Linked DNA regions of Homo sapiens: all the other regions are linked to region 3. The links are contacts of gene promoters, found by promoter capture Hi-C in blood cells and fetal thymus (Javierre and others, 2016). All regions are on one chromosome and are shown on one strand. Each heading gives the region's core, a stretch centred on a gene start or on the middle of the fragment in contact. The rest is flanking DNA. Distances are from core to core; before and after follow the strand shown.

Region 1 (3,064 bases), core at 251-2,750, 230 kb before region 3:
ATACTAAAGATCAGATTTCAGGGAGGTAAAGGTGGAACTAGCACAGGACTCTATGTGCTCCAACCTCTAAATCCGGCTGTGTCTTTCTACATAATTCTCTCTCCCAGTGTCCCATTTCATTCATGTTTCTGCAGTACGCGTTACACACTGCACTAACCCTCAGGCAGGGTTTGGCCATTCTTTCAAGTTTAACACCAACTTTTCCAGCAACAGAGATATATTAACGTTGGTATAAATGTTAAGGCAAACCCTTATCTGCCGTCCCGCTTTTTATCCCGGGTACTATTTGGTAACAAAGCAACAGTGACAGACCCCTTCAAGACCAAAAAGGAGTATTTTTCTGCATGAGTCTCAGATCTGCTCACTTTGGCTTAAGGAGAAAGCTGCTCTCCTGGCTACTGGCTCACCAGCTTAGTTGACTGTCTGAGTTCTGCCCTCCTTTTCTTCCTGTCATCTTTCTCTAATCTCTACTCTGGCTATTTCAACAGCCCTTCAACTCCTGTCACTTTCTGTGTTTTTGAAGCCAGAATTTCACTAAAATGTCCTCATGATCTTTATAACTTTACTATCACTCTCAGTCTAGGAATTCATAACATAAATTAGCACATTAGGGAAATTCTTATTCTGACTTGACTTTTAATCTATTGAGCACCAGAAGCCCAGCCAACTAGAAACTAGGGTAAGAGGGAGAACAGAGTCAGAATCATTCTTAGCATTTCACATAAAACATAGACTCTTTAGCTTAGAGAAGGCTTAGCCATTCCCTCTTTTTCTAGTGATATCCTTGAGTTGTTTACATACTGCTTTGGCTGTACAGATCAAGAAACTACAACCCAGTCTGGCGAGGAGATAATGGTTCCAAACACCCAATTCAGGGCCTGGCTTTATCCCAATCACCACATCCTCAAATCTAGACAAGTCTTCTAGGTTCTTAGCCCTGGGTCCATGGATGGGTTGCAGGCTGCCAATTCCCCCTTACAAGGTCCTGTGCTGTGTAATGAAGGTTGGTCAATGATGGACCACATATACAGTGGTGGTTCCATAAGAATATGATAGAGCTGAAAAATTCCTATCGCCTGGTGACATCGTAGTGCAGTGCATTACTCACATGTTTGTGGTGATGCTGGTGTAACAAACCTACTGCGTTGCCAGTCATTTAAAGTCTCTCTGACGTTTGCACAACAACAAAATTGCCTAAGGGCACAGTTTACAGAATGTATCCCCCTTGTTAAGTGACACATGACTGTGTGCATTTTGCTGGAATACGTACACATCTCTCAGAGGGTTCCAAACCCCCAATGGTTAAGAACCACTTCACTGGACTTAAATGATCCAAATAATAACCTCACAAGAATGTCAGCTCTACAGAGTATGAATCTTTGTTTTGTTCACTGATGCACCCTAAGTGCCTAGCACAGGCCCTGGGACGCTGCACCCTGAGCAGATGGGGCTACATGATTCCTGGTCATGGTTTACTCTGAATACATTGAGAAAAAGAGCAACGGTAGACTATTTTCAGGACCTTTCACATGAGGGAGGACCAAGATTTCTCCTCGTGATCAAAATCATCCAGGAGAGTTGGTAGCTGCATTACCATCTTTTTTTCTTTTTTGAGACATAGTCTTGCTCTGTTGCCCAGGCTGGAGTGTAGTCATGCCATCTCGGCTCACTGCAACCTGCTCCGCCCCATGGGTTCAAGCGATTTTCCTGCCTCAGCCTTCTGTGTAGCTGGGACTACAGGCACCTGCTACCACACCCGGCTAATTTTTGTATTTTTAGTAGAGATGTTGGCCAGGCTGGTCTCGAACTCCTGACCTGAGGTGATCTGCCTGCCTTGGCCTCCCAAAGTGTTGGGATTACAGGCGTGAGCCACCGTGCCTGGGCCATTACCATCTCAATGTTAGATTTCCGAACAATGTTGGCCAGTCTTGCTAGATAATCTAAAAGAATGGTTCTAAATCTGGGAGATTTCAAGTTTATCTGGTGAAGCTGTTTCAAAATGCCAACCCATTCTCCATCTGTTCTCTTACTCTCAGCTCCTCCCCCATTCTGATTACACAGCTCTAGTTTAGAGCCAGGTAATGAGTTATTGCGAAAAAACCCTCTATGTGACTGATACCTTCTTCTCCTTCCACAGAATGAGAAGTGCTGATCTAAGAAATAATCTAAGCAGGATCTGAAAAGGAAACACAAGTACACTGAGTTTACTAGGCTCTTGATAAAGCAACTTCCAATACAGGGAACAAATGCATTAGATATGCCTTGTTCAGAAATAAAACAATAAGGCAAAGGAAGTAGAGAATCTACCTTTAATGCCAACTCCATCTGTTAGGAACAGACAATCCATCAGATGGATCCTAGGGGTTAGGAGAACATGACAAAGAGACTGTCTGAGGAAGACCGAGATTGTATTTTTATTAGTTTGGTCCAAATTCAGTAAAAATTGGCAAAGTGCTCTCATTCCAGACATGCCCAGTGCTCAGCTAATCCCCTCGCTGCGGAGTAAGAAAAGAATGTACAGAATTATGAACCCCCTGCTCCCCAAATAGGAGGGGCTCCACCTCCTGAATGCAAGGGCCGAAACTAATCTCATCAACCATCCCCTCCTAATTATAAACTAGGTAGAGAAATAAGGTGCTTAACACAGGTGTTCTCCTTCTAAACTTTATGATTTGTAAACATGCTTTACCCCACTTCCACTAAAAACCCAGCCTTTGCCAACCTCAATTCATTATTGATTGGCAAACAAGAACAGAAACTATCCCCAGAATAATGTTTCTCTCCGGGAAATCTTGGGGAAGGGGTGCAATAAGGTCAGCCCCACCAAGATGCATTTTCCTTGGACTTACAATACATCTTATTACACTGAGAACACCATGTTCCCAACCAGCTTGGTCTCTTTTCTGTTACAAACCTGAAGTAAACAGATTCTACAGCAGCTACAAGTCTGTTACCAAGGCCACTGTATTATCAATATAATTAACATTCACAATTCATCTAGTCCAGCATGACAAGCCAGCTGGGCTACTTCTCATAAATGAACACTGGGAATCTTCATGTCTTG
Region 2 (2,890 bases), core at 324-2,823, 230 kb after region 3:
GAGAGCTATTGGGAAAGGCAGTACCAAAGAGGCAGCATGTTCCAGCTGTTGGAACCATCTTGGCTCAGGAGGTCGGCGGGGGAACTGCTTATTCTAGCCTGTGGGCAAATAATAAATAATAATAATAATCATGCTGGCTGGGCACAGTGGCTCACGCCTGTAATTCCAGCACTTTGGGAGGCTGAGGCGGGCAGATGATTTGAGATCAGGAGTTCAAGACCAGCCTGGCCAACATGGCGAAACCCCGTCTCTACTAAAAATACAAAAATTAGCTAGGCATGGTGACACATGCCTGTAATCCCAGCTACTCAGGAGGCTGAGGCAGGAGAATCGCTTGAACCCAGGAGGTGGAGGTTGCAGTGATCTGAGATCGCACCATTGCACTCCAGCCTGGGCAATAAGAGTGAGACTCTGTCTCAAAAAATAATAATAATAAATAATAATAATAATAATGCTACTAGTTCTTGAAGGCCCACTTTGGGAGGCACTTCTTATGCTGTATCTTATTAAATGATCTCAGTCAGGGTGTGGAGTAGCTACTGACAGCACACCCCCAACCCCACCTGCCAGTCCCTCCTTTTAGTAAAGCTTAGCACAATGGAGGGGGCAAGAAGACCAAGATGGAGAAACTGAGTGTGATCCCCCAAACCACATAAGAGATCCATGGCTCACTATGCTGTGCACACACCCAGGAAGGGAATCCTGTTACAGGACGGGGACCAGGCCCTGTTTCCAACAGTGGCACCCCTTCCCTTGGTATCATGGCAGGGCCCTTGCTGCTGAGGACTGATCTTTGCATCCTAGACTTGCTCCCTGGTACAGTTTTACCCAACCCTTGTGCACCAGCACCTCGTGACAGGGTCGTGTCTGCCCATCCACCCTTTTCTGCCCCAGGATGAGACCTGGAAGCCAATCAAGTTTATCTTTCATTCATCCATCCACTTCTTCAATAAACATTGAAGACTTCTTATGTTGCCACTGCCCCCTCCCTAGAGCCCCTTGCCTGCTCAGTGGCACCCACTACCCTCCTTCTCTGCCTTGTGTCAGAATCTGCTCTCAGGAAAGAGGTTGATAAACCCATTTGCACTGATAGCAACTTAATGTGTTCTTTCCCAGGAATATTAACAATTTAACAGGGAACAAAGAGAAGAAGCAGAACGTTGGGATTCCAGCATCGACCAGGGATGTCCCTGAGATCCCACAACATAGACTGCCTGTCAGCCGCCTACTCCCTAGCCAGGCCTCCCCCGCCAAGCTGCTGGCATTGTGTCCTCTTGGCATCCACCTCCATCCGCATGGGCACCCAACCCCCCCGCCCCTGCCAACCAGACAGCAGGCTTACAGCTGGGACCTCCACACCACAGCTCAGTTCCTGGCTTCCTGGGGCCCCCCTGTACCAGCACCAGCCATGCCTGCTTTCCAAGCACTCACCTCACCCTGCCCAGCATCTGGGAGCCAGGCCAAGGGGCTGAGGAGGGAGGCAGAGGAAAGCAGAGGTGAGAGCCCTTCCATTCTCTTTATTCCCCCACTGTCTGGCCTACACCCCCTGCCAGGAGCTGAGATCCAATGGTATATTCAGCCTGCAGCTGCCACTGGTCATGTGAGCCCATTGCTAGGTTACAGGGACCCAAAAATAAATCCTTCCCAACCAGATTAGAAACTGGGGGCCTCGGATGAACCAGGCTCAAAAGAGTGGCAGGAACACCCACAGTGCATGTTTAGGCCAGGCCTGCTATGGACCAGGGCCCTTCCCATGCTGCCCACCTCCTGTCCATCAGCAGGGGCTCAATGCTGGAACCCCACAGAAAAGTCCCAGAGAGCTCCTGGGTCTCCTATTTATTAATAACACAATAAATAGGTCTACAGGTTGAGTGGCCCTTCCTCACTAGCAATCAGGGTAATATCCTCTGCATGTTCTTCCCATCCAACCTTCCCATCATCAGCCTGTCCCTCCACAGGCCCTGCCCTACACCCAGTGCATGGGCAAAGCGAATTAGTCATTTGCCCTGTGGCCTGGGGGCCATCTGCCCTAACAGTCCTTTTCCAGACTCGGGAAGGGAGCTCTGGCAGTAGGCACAGCACTAGGCGTATTCGTGTGAGTAGTCTTACACAATCTTCTCTGTTAGTCTCAATGATTCCATTTACAGATATGGACACTGGGGCTTAGAGAGGTTAAGTGACTTTTGCAGAGCCACACAGTTGAGCAACTGGGGTTCAAACCCCAGATCTATACTATGGGGATGAGGCAAGGAAGAAGACAGGGAAGCACAGTTATGGAAAGGGGAGTTCCCCAAAACCCTTCCCTGGGGCCTGAAAACTTGGCACTTTAATTGCTCTGAATTGGAGGGGAGTTATCTCCCCCTGGAACTTCTTTCACATCCTCCAAGCCAGGACGCAGCTTACCCAGGCCACGTACCTCCTTCCCCATGGCTTTGGGCTCTGTCCCCTTCTCTGGGAAATACTGTCCAGGACCTGGGTGGGGTCATCCCCGGTGCTGAAGCCTGGGGAGGCAGACACAAATCCCCACTGCTCAGCACAACCCTGCTTCAGAAGCTTGACATAGGGCCAGAGTAGCAAAGCTGAAAGGATCACAGGAGGTCAGGTGTCTAACTCCTGATTTTACAGATGAACAGGCCTAGAGTGGAAAGGGAACTTGCCCAGGGCTAGGCTACACAGCTAGAGGGTAAAGGAGGTGCAACCAGAACCCAAGCCTCCGGAGTCCTGCTCCTTTTTTCAGCTTGTCATTAATGGCGCACATTTGGGTTCCTGGGGCCCTTCCTCAACCCACCATATCCCTAGGACCTCCCAGCTGTCTGTTTTCTTCAGCTCCTCCTCCCCAGCAAGGTTCTGAGAAGGCCCAGACACCCCACTTACCTCTGTACTGTCCTTG
Region 3 (2,955 bases), core at 379-2,878:
TCCCTCTTCCCTCAGGGGGCTCCACAGAAGCAGATGTCCCCAATACCTGGCCCCAAGCCCCAGACCCACCAAGGCCACAAAGGCTTTATGTCTGAGGAGACACACACTGCTCCCAGGGGCACCCCTAAAGGGCACTGCAGAGGGCAAGGTGCTGGGAATGCCACTCATTGTTTCTCTGCCCCTGCCCACCTTGCCCCAGAGCCCCCCCAGGAGTCCCTGCTGTGCTCACACTGACTTGGGGAGGGTCCTATGGGAAGGACGGGCCTGGCCTGAGCTGGGCAGAAATGAGGTGTTGCCTGAGCCCCAAGCCAGGGCTGGGGTGAAATATGACTGTGGCCTTCACGGAGTTGGGGGAGGCAACGAGGGGACAGGCTGTGCTATCCCAAAAGAAGCTGAAGGGCCACAAGATGGGGACCCAGGGGAAAGAACCCCAGGACTGCTTCCCATGGGGCTGTGGCTGGGTGCTGGCCTCACAGGCACCTGATCCCTGGGCCCCAGCAGCTGGCTGTCCACTGGACTCTCCCAGGGACACACACAGCCCAGACAGGGAAGGCACCTCCCTAGGATCTGACGCATGGACTCCAGGCCATCCAGGGCAGCGTTGGTTGGGTGGTGATGGGAGAGAAGGCTGAGATATCCTGGGATAGTTCCAGGGAAGCTAAAGATGGGAGTGCTCCAGCCCTCAGACTCCACAGGACACTCCATCACAGGGCCCAGCACCGGGACCCTGCATTCTGCCCACGAGGGTCCGAGGCTCACTGGCACTCCCCCGCCCCCGCCTCCCCTCCTGCCCTGCTCCCTGGTTTCTGTTTATACCTGGCCTTGTTGGTTAGACTGTGAGTTCCCAGAGGGCAGGGGAGCCTGGCCCACTCTGAGTGCCAAGAAAGATTTTTCGATACCATGGAGTGCAGGAAGTGGGTAGGTTTATGACTAGAGATAGATGCAGGCCTCCGTTTTCCATCTTTGCTGAAGCTGGCCAGGCGTCCACCAGGGGTCTGGGCACAAGATGGGGTACAGAAGGAAAGAGAGTGGAAGAGCGAGAAAGGGCTGGTAAGGGGGCTCCTGCTGGAAGGGACAACAGTAGGGACAGAATGAGGGCCCTGCCAGAGGGAATCTCAGCGCTCCATGTAATGCCCCAGGGGCCTCAGTCCCCATCTTCTGTGACAAGATCCATGTCCTGCTCACAGGCACCACCCAGGTACACAGGATCACACACCTATGGGTGCCACCCACGCACAGGCATGGCACACACGCCAGCCCACAGCTTCCCCCAAGCCTGGAGTCCACCTCCAGCCGACCTGTGCCCTCACCACAGAACCCAGACTCTGGGCCATGTGTGCTCTCTTCTTCTGGTCCCAGCCCCGTGCCTGATGCTGACCTGTTCCCCAGAGTAGGCACCTAAAAGGCAGAGGGAAGAGGGGGCCACACCCCAAGGCTAGCAGTGGGGGAAACAGGGAAGCAGGGGCCTCTAGCTAAGCTGGGGACGCCAGTCAGCACAGACACTGCCGCAGGTCCAGGTTGATGTTGAGCGGTTAGTGACCAGGAAGCCTCCCCACCCACCAGAGTCCAAAGAGCACAGGCGTGGCTGCCTCTGTAACCTCATCAAAGGCAGGCTCTGCCTGTGGCCACTAGCAGAGAAGCTGCTGTCCTTCCACCACCAGCACCGGACCACCTGCTCCAAGACCAGCCTCCTGGGGGGACCAGGCACCCGGCCTTCACTGGCACCCAGGTAAGGGCCTGGCCCCCAGGGAAGATCGGGGCCCAGCCCAGTCACAGGGGATCTCAGGGCAGGTGGGGGCAACTCAGTGGCTTCCCAGGCCAGGTCTCCAGCCTGTTCCCAGCTGCAGCCCAGGGGATCAAGCCCAAGGAGGGGCTTGGGACTCAGCAGCTGGCTGGTGGGCTGGAAAGCAGAGCGAGGTCCAGGCTCCGGAAGGGCCTCTGGGATGCTTGCCCCAGGGTCTATGAGGTGATGGCCTTCCCTGCTCCAAACCCCTACATCTAGGGCTTAAAGGGGGGAAATGGGCTGTCACAGCTCCCCTACCCCTAAGGGGCAAGGCAGGCCAAGCCAGCTCCCTCTTCCCTCCCTGGGGTAGGGAATCTTTGGCTGCAGCTGTTTCCCCACCTTGACCTACCTACCTAGAGGGCCCCACAGGGCCCACCCTGGTGTTGAGGGAGTGGGGAGTGGGGCTGACCAGGGGCAGACCTCACTTCCTCTTCTGCATGGAGAGCATGGAGAAGCAGGAAGTGTTACAATGGGGGTTGGGGGAGGCTGGGGAAGGGGAACAGGCTTCTAGCCCCGCCTTACCCCTGGAGAGAAAAGGGGTCCTCCCAAACAAGGAAACCAGAGATCCAGCCGTCCCTTCCACATTCCCTTAATTGTTCACTGGCAGTTTATTTCCTTCCACACTGAGTCATCTTATCAGATCCTACGTCATTTTCACAACAGTCCTAATAAACAAGGGTATGGGTTGCTCTCTCACATGTTACCCGGGGTAGTCCAGTATTTCTGCACAACTGAGGTGTACCATGTAGACATGTGGATACCCACAAACCTCATTTGGATAACACATACCCTTGACCCGCACAGACTAACACCACCCCCACCCGGGACACACACACCACATTTAATTCCACTCCATTTCAACATGTATGTTCTCTAGACTCCCTCTGTGACTGCGCACAGCCCAGCGGCAGAGGCATGTTTATAAACCATTAAAACACGAAGCTTGCAATCGGACAGATCTGGGTTGCTCTCTATTAAACGTTCATTTGTGACCTCAGGCCTGTTACCGTCTTTGAGCCTCAGAGTCCTCATATGGTAAATGGGGACAATACCAGTACCTGCCTTGTGAGGTTGTTTTGAGGATTAGAGTGACTGAAGGTAACGCCGTTAGAACAGTGCTAGGCACGTGGCGCCAAGTAAGTACAAGTGGACGGCAGTGAGGAGAAACTGAT

What was found. Contacts are between HindIII fragments. The CHiCAGO score rates a contact against its expected background, and 5 or more counts as called.
Region 1: a contact is called between a fragment that was not itself captured here and the fragment with the promoter of EPS8L3 in region 3, in 2 of 17 cell types (neutrophils and monocytes). The highest score is 7.9, in neutrophils.
Region 2: a contact is called between a fragment that was not itself captured here and the fragment with the promoter of EPS8L3 in region 3, in 11 of 17 cell types (M0 macrophages, M1 macrophages, erythroblasts and 8 more). The highest score is 13.2, in M0 macrophages.

Annotation. Positions count from the first base shown.
Region 1 is chr1:109,994,758-109,997,821 of GRCh38, reverse strand. All of the region lies in intron 1 of AHCYL1 (adenosylhomocysteinase like 1), which reads right to left. Among named protein-coding and RNA genes, the nearest start is that of AHCYL1, 12 kb to the right of the region's middle. The HindIII fragment of the contact is 8,580 bases long and covers 1-3,064 here.
Region 2 is chr1:109,534,790-109,537,679 of GRCh38, reverse strand. No RefSeq gene overlaps it. Among named protein-coding and RNA genes, the nearest start is that of GPR61, 3.6 kb to the left of the region's middle. The HindIII fragment of the contact is 1,965 bases long and covers 591-2,555 here.
Region 3 is chr1:109,762,596-109,765,550 of GRCh38, reverse strand. It overlaps EPS8L3 (EPS8 signaling adaptor L3), which reads left to right and starts at 1,628. Exons shown (of 19, transcript NM_133181.4): 1 at 1,628-1,729. The region is part of intron 1 of LOC124904258 (a long non-coding RNA gene); the gene reads right to left. The HindIII fragment of the contact is 2,750 bases long and covers 1-2,727 here.